Linked DNA regions of Homo sapiens: region 1 is linked to region 2. The links are contacts of gene promoters, found by promoter capture Hi-C in human tissues and cell types (Jung and others, 2019). All regions are on one chromosome and are shown on one strand. The core of a region is centred on a gene start or on the middle of the fragment in contact, and the rest is flanking DNA. Distances in the headings are between cores, read along the strand shown.

The links. The method cuts DNA at HindIII sites, captures the fragments that hold promoters and counts their contacts. A contact is called where the count stands out against the background at its distance.
Region 1: a fragment that was not itself captured here is called in contact with the fragment with the promoter of MLLT11 in region 2 in 1 of the 25 tissues and cell types used here (pancreas).

Annotation. Positions count from the first base shown.
Region 1 is chr1:151,232,025-151,237,596 of GRCh38, forward strand. PIP5K1A (phosphatidylinositol-4-phosphate 5-kinase type 1 alpha) reads left to right here. Exons shown (of 16, transcript NM_001135638.2): 6 at 224-341; 7 at 527-679; 8 at 2,173-2,472; 9 at 4,534-4,739. Among named protein-coding and RNA genes, the nearest start is that of PSMD4, 20 kb to the right of the region's middle. The HindIII fragment of the contact is 7,660 bases long and covers 1-5,137 here.
Region 2 is chr1:151,058,122-151,062,911 of GRCh38, forward strand. It overlaps MLLT11 (MLLT11 transcription factor 7 cofactor), which reads left to right and starts at 2,276. Exons shown (of 2, transcript NM_006818.4): 1 at 2,276-2,432. CDC42SE1 (CDC42 small effector 1) reads right to left here and starts at 1,501. Exons shown (of 5, transcript NM_020239.4): 1 at 1,358-1,501. RefSeq lists an enhancer at 1,822-2,413. The HindIII fragment of the contact is 8,370 bases long and covers 1-3,848 here.

The DNA of each region.
Region 1 (5,572 bases), core at 58-2,557, 170 kb after region 2:
ATGCATTGGATAGGAGGCAGTGTGATTTCTTCTTCTTCTTATGTCTTGCTGTCCATGCTGTGCCATTGTCTCACTAACTCATCTAAGAAGGGCTGTGATTATCTTAGGAGGAATGTATTCCCCCACTCCCCCCACCATGAGGTGACTCTGAGTGTCTTCGCAAGGTAGATTCTCTGGATGATAGGGACTGGCAAGTTATGGCTACCTCTGTTTAACCCCACAGTGAAGGGAGCAACCTGACCCCTGCTCATCACTACAATGACTTTCGTTTCAAGACCTATGCACCTGTTGCCTTCCGCTACTTCCGGGAGCTATTTGGTATCCGGCCCGATGATTACTTGGTAAGCATCTGGATATCAGGACACTGTGACTCCAGTATCAGAGGGATATTCCCAAAGGAAGGCCCCTTTTCTCCACAGTCTCGCTCTGGTTTTTATTTAGAAAAGAATTGCATCTGTAGTTGATTTTTGTGTTGGGCAAGGCCCTGATGTGTCTAAATCTCTTAGTTCTTCTCTGTTTGCCCCAGTATTCCCTCTGCAGTGAGCCGCTGATTGAACTCTGTAGCTCTGGAGCTAGTGGTTCCCTATTCTATGTGTCCAGCGACGATGAGTTCATTATTAAGACAGTCCAACATAAAGAGGCGGAATTTCTGCAGAAGCTGCTTCCAGGATACTACATGGTAAGGGAGAGAGAAGCACTGTCCACCTGTGCTGCTCACTTCTGGGCAAGGCTGGGGAGGCTGTCTTCAGCAGGGTAAAACAGTGTCAGCACTTCTATCTTAAGAGTGTAGTTCAGGCCAGGCACGGTGGCTCATGCCTGTAATCCCAGGACTTTGGGAGGCCGAGGCAAGAGGATCACAAGATCAGGAGATCAAGACCATCCTGGCCAACATGGTGAAACCTCGTCTTTACTAAAAATACAAAAAATTAGCCAGGCGTGGTAGCGGGCGCCTGTAGTCCCAGCTACTCAGGAGGCTGAGACAGGAGAATGGCGTGAATCTGGGAGGCGAAGTTTGCAGTGAGCCGAGATCCTGCCACTGCACTCCAGCCTGGGTAACAGAGCAAGACTCCGTCTCAAAAAAAAAAAAAAAAAAATGTTGTTCAGTTTTGTGCTTTTCACCCCATTTCTTTTGCCTCTCTATGGTAAAAGGGGTTTTGTTTATCTGTTCTGTTTTAAGTGTTGTTGATCTCCCAGGCTCAAGTGATCCTCCCACCTCAGCCTCTCACGTAGTTGGGACTAAAGGCACGCACCACCACACCTGGCTAATTTTTATAAACTTATTTTCTTTTATTTTTTCGTGACGGAGTCTCGCTTTGTTGTCCAAGCTGGAGTACAGTTGCACAATCTCGGCTCACTGCAACCTCCGCCTCCCAGGTTCAAGCAATTCTCCTGCCTCAGCCTCCTGAGTAGCTGGGATTACAGGCATGCGCCACCATGCCAAGCTAATTTTTTATTTTTTAGTAGAGATGGAGTTTCACCATGTTGGTCAGGCTGGTCTTGAACTCCTGACCTCATGATCCGCCTGCCTTGGCCTCCCAAAGTGCTGGGATTACAGGCGTGAGCCACCGTGCCCGGCCTAATTTTTATAAATTTTTAGTAGAGATGAGGTCTTGCTATGTTACCCAGGCTGGTCTCAAATTCCTGAGCTCAAGTGATCCTCCTGTTTGGCCTCCCAAAGTGCTGGGGTTACAGGCATGAGCCACTGCACCTGGCTATTTTCGTCTTCTGTTCTTAGTTCAGCTTCTAGTTTGGGGAATGAGGTAGGTTATTTCCCTTGGTAATACTCTCTGCAGCCTTACTCTGATTGCTATTGGAGGTTCTGGAGAAGTTAGGTAACTCTCCTTACCTGCCTTACCATCCCCAAGAATATACTATACCCAGGGCAGAGAGTGTCGTCTTCTCTTAAATCTCTCTGAAGAAATATATCCATCTTATATTGGTATCCTGGCTGATTTCTGTATTGGAGAGTCTGTGGCACAGCTTGATGGTGAACTTACCATTGAAATAGATGCATAGGGAAATGTAAAGCATATATGATGTAGGTTTATGGACACATTGTGTCTAAATCTCATATAGGAGATAAAGGGAGGATGGGTGGTAACTTTTACTGGTGAGTTTCACTGAAAATCAGCTAAGTTGTTCTCCTACTTCTGTTTCCTTTTGTGTTCTCAGAACCTCAACCAGAACCCTCGGACTTTGCTGCCTAAATTCTATGGACTGTACTGTGTGCAGGCAGGTGGCAAGAACATTCGGATTGTGGTGATGAACAATCTTTTACCAAGATCGGTAAAAATGCATATCAAATATGACCTCAAAGGCTCAACCTACAAACGGCGGGCTTCCCAGAAAGAGCGAGAGAAGCCTCTTCCCACATTTAAAGACCTAGACTTCTTACAAGACATCCCTGATGGTCTTTTTTTGGATGCTGACATGTACAACGCTCTCTGTAAGACCCTGCAGCGTGACTGTTTGGTGAGTTTGTTACTTAGACATCAAAAATCTCAGTTACTAAAACAGCTTGATTGTTCTTAGGCATTAAGTTTGTGGGAGATGGAACTCTGTTCCTTAGCACTGTATGTCCTGGGCTGTATTTAAAATAAGTCTTAATTAGTTCATTGCCATTCCTTTACATTTTTACTTTCTCCCCGTTTATCCTCCCACAATGGGATTTATTTCCTTCTCTAGCTAGCCTGGGCCTCACAGTCAAATGTTCTGCTTATTTTCATACCAACATCATCCTTCCTCAGATTTTGGTCCTGGCTGCCAAATCCAAATTTATATTTTGGAAGCTGAGTGCTGCTGAAGAATATTACACAACCGTGTATACTGGCATCTACAGAATTATGATATCCAACCCCACTTGGGCTTTCAATATCGATCTTCAGTCCATTTGCTGTTGCTCTCAATAGGGATTTCAGATGTTTGGCATTCTAATCAAACCATTTTCTGACTCTCATCTCCCTAGCTTTGTTTCTCAACAAGCTACCTTAACTTTTTATCCTATTTCATCCTCTCATGCTGCCCCTGTCACCAATGGATAAATGTATCTACATTTTACTTTATTTTTTATTTTTTGAGATGGAGTTTCACTCTTGTCACCCAGGCTGGAGTGCAATGGCACGATCTCGGCTCACTGCAATTTCCACCTCCCAGATTCAAGCGATTCTCCTGCCTCAGCCTCCCAAGTAGCTGGGATTACAGGCGCCCATCACCACGCCTGGGTCGTTTTTGTATTTTTAGTAGTGACAGGGTTTCACCACGTTGGTCCCGCTGGTTTCAAACTCCTGACCTCAAATGATCTGCCTGCCTTGGCCTCCCAAAGTGCTAGGATTACAGGTGTGAGCCACCGCACCCGGCCTAGATATCACTCTTGACCTCTGTACTCTTCTGTCATGTGAACACTTCCCACTGTTGCACATATTAAACTGTATTGTGTTTATTTTACATTTGTATCCCTTTCTAAATGTATAATGTCCTTGAAGACAGAAACTCTCTCTTTAATATCTTTATATCTCTGTAAGGAGGCACAGTGCCTACATGGTGGAGATTCAGTAAATGTTTAACTGAATTGAAGCTAGTCATACAAGGTCCTACCACAGATCTGTTCTGTCACAAAGTGTACTTTACCAGAACCTCATTGTGGAATCTTCACAGCACAAATATGTATTCCTTGTTCTTTTGAGAAGGTAGTGTTCTCTTCATGGAGACATACATGGAAAGAACAAAGATGGTCTTGTGGGCTAGGCAGTGGGACTTGGAAAAATTATATTAACTCAAATGAGAGAAAGCTAAGGGTATGTAAATAAAGACTAACCAGGCCGGGCGTGGTGGCTCACGCCTGTAATCCCAGCACTTTGGGAGGCTGAGGCAGGCAGATCACCAGGTCAGGCGTTCGAGACCAGCCTGGCCAACATGGTGAAACCCCAACTCTACTAAAAATACAAAAATTAGCTGGGTGTGGTGGCACGTGCCTGTAATCCCAGCTACTTGGGAGGCTGAGGCAGGAAAATCGCTTGAACCAGGGAGTTGGAGGTTGCAGTGAGCCAAGATCGCGCCACTGTACTCCAGCCTGGCGACAAAGCAAGACTCCGTCTCAAAAAAAAAAAAAAAAAAATTTAGCCTTACAGGTTCACTGTAAGGCTAAATTAAATAATTACATCATGAAAGCTGTCAAGCCAGGCGTGGTGGCTCATACCAATAGTCCCAGCACTTTGGAAGACTGAGATAGGCAGATCCCTTGAGCCCAGAAATTAGAGACCAGCTGGGCAGCATGGTGAAACCGTCTCTATGAAAAATAAAAAATTAGGCAGGTGTAGTGGTGTGTGCCTGTAGTCCCAGCTACTTGGGAGGCTGAAGTAGGTGGATATTTTGAGCCTGGGAGGTTGCAGCTACAGTGAGCCGAGATCACACCACTGCACTCTAGCCTGGGTTACAGATTGATACCCTTTCTCAAAAAAACAAAAAAATTGTGAGATCCTGAAAAATATTTTTATTTCTTCCAAGGCTCAGATCATGTTTTTTTCCTTCCATTAGGTGCTGCAGAGCTTCAAGATAATGGATTACAGCCTCTTGATGTCAATCCATAATATAGATCATGCACAACGAGAGCCCTTAAGCAGTGAAACACAGTACTCAGTTGATACTCGAAGACCGGCCCCCCAAAAGGCTCTGTATTCCACAGCCATGGAATCCATCCAGGGAGAGGCTCGACGGGGTGGTACCATGGAGACTGATGACCAGTAAGTGGGCTCAGGGCCACTAGGGGGGAGAACATAGGCCCACAGCACTTTTCTTTTCTTTTTTTTTTTTTTTTTTTTTTAGTTTCACTCTTGTTGCCCAGGCTGATGTGCTGATGTGCAATGGCACGATCTCAGCCTACTACTACCTCCACCTCCTGGGTTCAAGCGATTCTCCTGCTTCAGCCTCCTGAGTAGCTGTGACTACAGGCACCTGCCACCACACCCAGCTAATTTTTTGTATTTTTAGTAGAGAAGGGGTTTCATCATGTTGGGCAAACTAGTCTACGAACTCCTGACCTCAGGTGATCCACCCGCCTTGGCCTCCCGTAGTGCAGGGATTACAGGCGTGAGCCACCGTGCCCGGCCACAGCACTTTTTCTTTAGGAAGGGACCCAGCTTCTGGAAAGGAGTAGCCTTGACTCAGCAGTTGGATCAGTAACATTATTGTTGACAGAAGTATAGAATGAGCTTGAACGAGCTTTCTTAATACAAAATGAAAAGAAGATTAATTTCGGGTTTATAGTATATGTGGGAAGGAGAGCTGTTCAAGAGTTAAAGACTTAAAAAATTATAGTCTTAAATGCATGTCTGCAAATTATATTAGAACTTTATTAGGGCTGGGCACAGTGGCTCATGCCAGTAATCCCAACACTTTGGAAGGCTGAGGCAGGCGGATCACTTGAGTCCAGGAGTTTGAGATCAGCCTGAGCATCATGATGAGACCTCATCACTACAAAAACTCAAAAATTACCTGAGTGTGATGGTGAGCACCTGTGGTCCCAGCTACTCAGGAGGCTGATGAGGCAGAATTGCTTGAGCCCAGGAGGTCAAGG
Region 2 (4,790 bases), core at 1,026-3,525:
GAGGGGGAGGAGAAGGAGAGAGGGAAAGGGGCAGTGGAGAGAACAAGGCCATTTCTGTTTCTTTTCCAGGGACCTGACCAGAGCTGGGTGGAGGGAAAGCGTGTGTGTGGGACTTGGCATGAAATGACCAATGATGACGAGAAGTGACCAGGAAATTCCATTCCCTAGGACATTAGGGTCTCTGAAACTTGAGGGTGGGGTCAGAGTGTGAAGAAGACAGGTCAGGGTGAATGTGATGGTAGCGCAGGGCAGTGGGGGATGGGAACAAAGCCAGAAAAGGAAGTAAGAGCCACTGGCGGCCACTCTTCTTTAAAGCAGCCAGAAGAGAGTGGGTTGAGGAAAAATGAAGTCCTGAGCTGGTCAGCCCAGGCGGAAGAGCCACCCGAATCCAACCCCACAGTGAATAGGGAAGGGGCTGAGAAAACAACAGGAGGGATGAGGATTAGACCTCATAAGGCCACGTCCTGAGAGCCAAGTGGTGCTCAGAACTCGACCTCTCTGAGTTCCAAATGGCAAGAGTGAAATATGGAACCGGGAAAGCCACCCCCCGCCCCCACCAAGATCATACTAGGACTTGAGGGTCTCAGAGCTGTTGGGAGGTGAGCAGAAGGGATGGGAAAGAGGTGCCAGGGAGGAAGGATGTACAGGCTAGTTCTCTGGTCCTGTTCGGGCCCCAAACCGGTTCTCCCGGTCCCACCGCCTCTGGCCCTAAGGCCTCCAACCCGCGGCCTGACAAGCCCTCACATGAAGCAGCTGGAGAGAAAGAAAGAATCGAGAGAATGGCATGGGCAATTCTGGCTAGAAGCCCGGGGCAGCAGCTGGTCCCTGTGTGGAGACCCCGAGACATGGAGGGCTGCTGAGGGACTCTGGAGAAGCGGTGTGGACTCCATATTTCAGCCAAGTGACAGGCCCAACACCAACCTTCCCTTCCCCAGGAAAGGTCTTCTGGGGGCTTAAGAGGAAAGAGGGCTAGGCCCTAAGCCTCCCCTCCCCAAATATATTCAATCACACAGATTCCGTATCTGTCTCCCCCCACTACACAACTCTACCTAGAAGTTCTCTGCTGTTCTCAACCCTTAACCGGACTGGGACCTCTCTGGGAATCTTTCGGACCCTCTCCCTCCCACCTCCCCCAACATTCCAGTTCCTTCTTTTCCTTCTACTCTTCAGCGGCCTCAGCCTGCGCACCCCAGGAGCGTGGATGACTACGGCCACCCCGGGCGCGCACCCCTTTCCCACCACCCCAGCATCTCTGCAGCCCAGGACACCCGCCTCCCCCACACCCCGCATCCGGTGTGTCTCCGCCTGGCCCGGCCGGCGCGGCAGGCGGGCCAGGGGACCAACTGCACGGCCTCACCTGCTCTTCTCCACCATCCAGACGTTCAGCTACAGCTGGTGGGGGTGAGGGACTCTGCTCCGTGGCCGCCAGTGTGGGCTTCCCGGGCTAGCTCTGCGGCGAGGTGGGGGAGCCGAGTACGAGCCGGCAGAGGTGGGGCCGGCTGAGGGCGGAAGCGGCGGCGACGCGATTACGAAACCCGTCCGGCTCGGAGCCCGGCGCACTGCTCCCCTCTGGACTGCGGAGGCACTGCACTGCGCGGGACGTGGGAGGGTGCCTCTGCAGCCCCTCAAGGCCGCCGCCCCTGCGGGGAGAACTGGAGAATGCGGACACCTAGATGAGGCCCTGGCACCCAAGCTGGGGCCCCCGGAATCTCACGTTCCCTTTACTCGCCAGGCATTTCGGGGCAAAACGAAGCGGAGCCCCCCAAACCCCCAGACCTAACCAAGTTCAGAGATTCGCAGAAGCACGCCCCCCACCCCAAATTTATTGTGCTCTACCCAAAATGGAATAGGACTAGGTTTATTTACCCATTGTGAGGGTAGAGAGGCGAGTCTGGAGGAGCAGGGATTGGGAGAAGGGGTGGAAAAATACTCTGATTCTTAAAAATACTTTGTAACCTAAAGTCCTTAAATTGTGGAAGAAAGGAATACTCCTCCTTTCCATTGTAGTCTAGAGTTAAGATTTCAAATCCATAAATTAGAGGACCTAAAATTAGAGGGCAATTAACTGCTCATTCATTGGGCCCCCAGTCAGCACGGGGGTGCTGGAAGAGATCGGGAATAATAGCGCAGACCAATGAGCCTAGGGAGATGCTTTCATCGTCTCTCCTTCCCTCAAGTGTTCTGGAACCTATCATTTGAATTAGCCGAGTCAGGCAGGAGGGGGCGGGGAATCCTTCCGCCCTTCTTAGGAGGGGCTGCATTGCAGGGGGAGAGTGAACTGACAGACTCAGTCACTGAAGAGGGAAAAGGAGTGAGAAGACAAAGCCGTCAAAGCCCCAACAGCTTTGTATTTCTCCAGCCCGGCGCAGACCCCGGAGCTCCCGAGGCACTCCCTCCATCTTTGGAACACGCCAGTAATTGATTGATAACAGGTAAACCAAACTGAGGGAGGGGGCAGGGGGCTGCAAAGATAGAAGAGCGGCTGCTTATGGTTAGATTGAAAGACCCCACATGAGGTGGGGGACAGCTGAAGAGGAGAGAAGGGGGCGCTATGAACAATGGGTAGTTATTTCTTCACAGCATCCATGCCTTGTTACCTTATACAGACCATTAATCTCTAACAATTTACTTGTAGTTATTTCTCAGCACCTACCTCATTTCAAGTATCCTTTTCTGTAATTTATTGTCCTGTGTATTTAATATCTTCAGTCTACTTATCTTCCTTTTCAAACCATAATTTGTTTTACCAGCTGTTTAATTTTTAGTCCTACTGTATCTCTCTGTCCTCTACTTCCCTATACTTGCAATTTTTTTCTGTAGTGTTCTATGTTTCTCTGTAGGAGGGAGTTTGGGAGGGGGTTATATGGGATAATGTTGGGTGTAATCCTGACCTTTCTTTGGATAATCTCTTTCATTCCACCTCGAATCTTTGCTCCAAAGAAAGAGGCAGCCTAGGGTAGGAAAGGTGGGGGCCTCTGTGTTGGAGAACTGCCTGATTCCATAGTGAAATCAGTATAGCCCACAGGAGCTAGGTATGGGGACAGATTCTGGAAAAGAATGATTTGCAGCTCAGTGGAATTGGTGGAGGAATGCTAGTAGGAAAATCCAAGCTCTGACTGAGGCACACATTATGAGATGTCAGAGAGGTTCTGCTCCCCTCTACCACCACCACCACCTTGTCCTTCCCCCTTCCCCATGGTGGCAGCATGACACAGCAAGGCCCTGTTGAGTAGGCCTTGGATGCCCACAAAGGGTCTGGACAAAGGATATTTGGGCGTGTCTGTGTGGCTCCGAGAGTGTATCTTTCTAATCTATACATTTGCTAATCATGTATCTCTAAGAACAGAGTGATAATTAGATATTGCCTTTGCCTAAAATACCCGGATAATTTAAAGTGAAGGATAGTGGGAAGCATTTATTGAACATATATTGTGGTACAAGGCACTGTCAAAACCCTTTAAGTAAATGATACCATTTAAGATAATGAAAGATGTAAAGATAGATGAAGTAGGGCTGGAGAGCATTTGTGGAGGGGAAGGGGAAGCTAGCCAAAAAAGGATCTTTTGCGAAATTTGGAGTATTTGATAATTAAATCCATACTATATTAAATCAAAAATGTCATTACTACTTACATTAGTGAATAGCATTTTAACTTCAATTTTCTGTGTAGTATTACTTTATGTTCTTGACTTGATTTTAATGCCACGTATGTTTGCATGCATGTCTTTCTTGAATGTATTTGGTACCCTGTGTACATGTCTCTGGGTCAATGACATAGAGATTTTAGGCCTTTTGAGTTAATATTTCATAAAATTTGCTTTAGCTTTTTAAATTGCAAGATAGCTCTACCAAACACTCAGGGACTGTTTGAGCAGTTTTTTATACATACTCTGGTTGTAAGAAAAGGAGTCAGTTTGTCGAAGAGCTTTTTTTTTTTTCTCAGATTCTAGCTTGCTCTACTGCCCTTTGCTTTTCCCCATTCAGATCACAATTACAGGAACAATCACCTAAACCACGGAAAATCTATTCTTCAGCAACTAAAAATTCTTTTAAGTTTTGGGAATACTGGTATAGGGTTATATAAAGCTGTTGGCAACTATCCATGTACAACACAAAAAGGGATCAGATTGGGAATTATGAGATCTGGATTCTATACAAACTGGCTGGAAGTCTTCCCAAGTCATTAATTTCTAAGATGTCTTCTAGTTTTAAAATTCTATGATTTTTTCCCCCCATGATTCTATTTTTTTTTTTTTTTTAAGATGGAGTCTCGCTCTGTTGCCCAGGCTGGAGTGCAGTGGTGCAATCTTGGCTCACTGCAACCTCCACCTCCCCAGTTCAAGCGATTCTCCTGCCTCAGCCTCCCGAGTAGCTGGGATTATAGGCGCCTGCCACCACACCTGGCTAATTTTTGTATTTTTAGTAAAGACGGGGTTTCACTATCTTGGCCAGGCTGGTCTCGAATTCCTGACCTTGTGATCCACCTGCCTCGGCCTCCCAAAGTGCTGAGATTACAGGCGTGTGCCACCGCGCCTGGCCCCATGATTCTATTTTTTAAAGAGCCTATAATGTGGCCTGCATTATACTAAGCTCATTCTGGAGAAGACTTGTCAGGTAGGATAGAGAAAAGAACCCAGCTAGCTGTGAAAATAACTGGTAACAGTAAGAATCCCTGTAGCCACAAGTCCATAACAGTATTGACTCCTAGGTATGCTTCTTAGAATCTCTATAGTCCCAGATTTAAGCAGTGGGTGGTTGGTTAATGGATACAACCATTTTTTGTAGCTCTC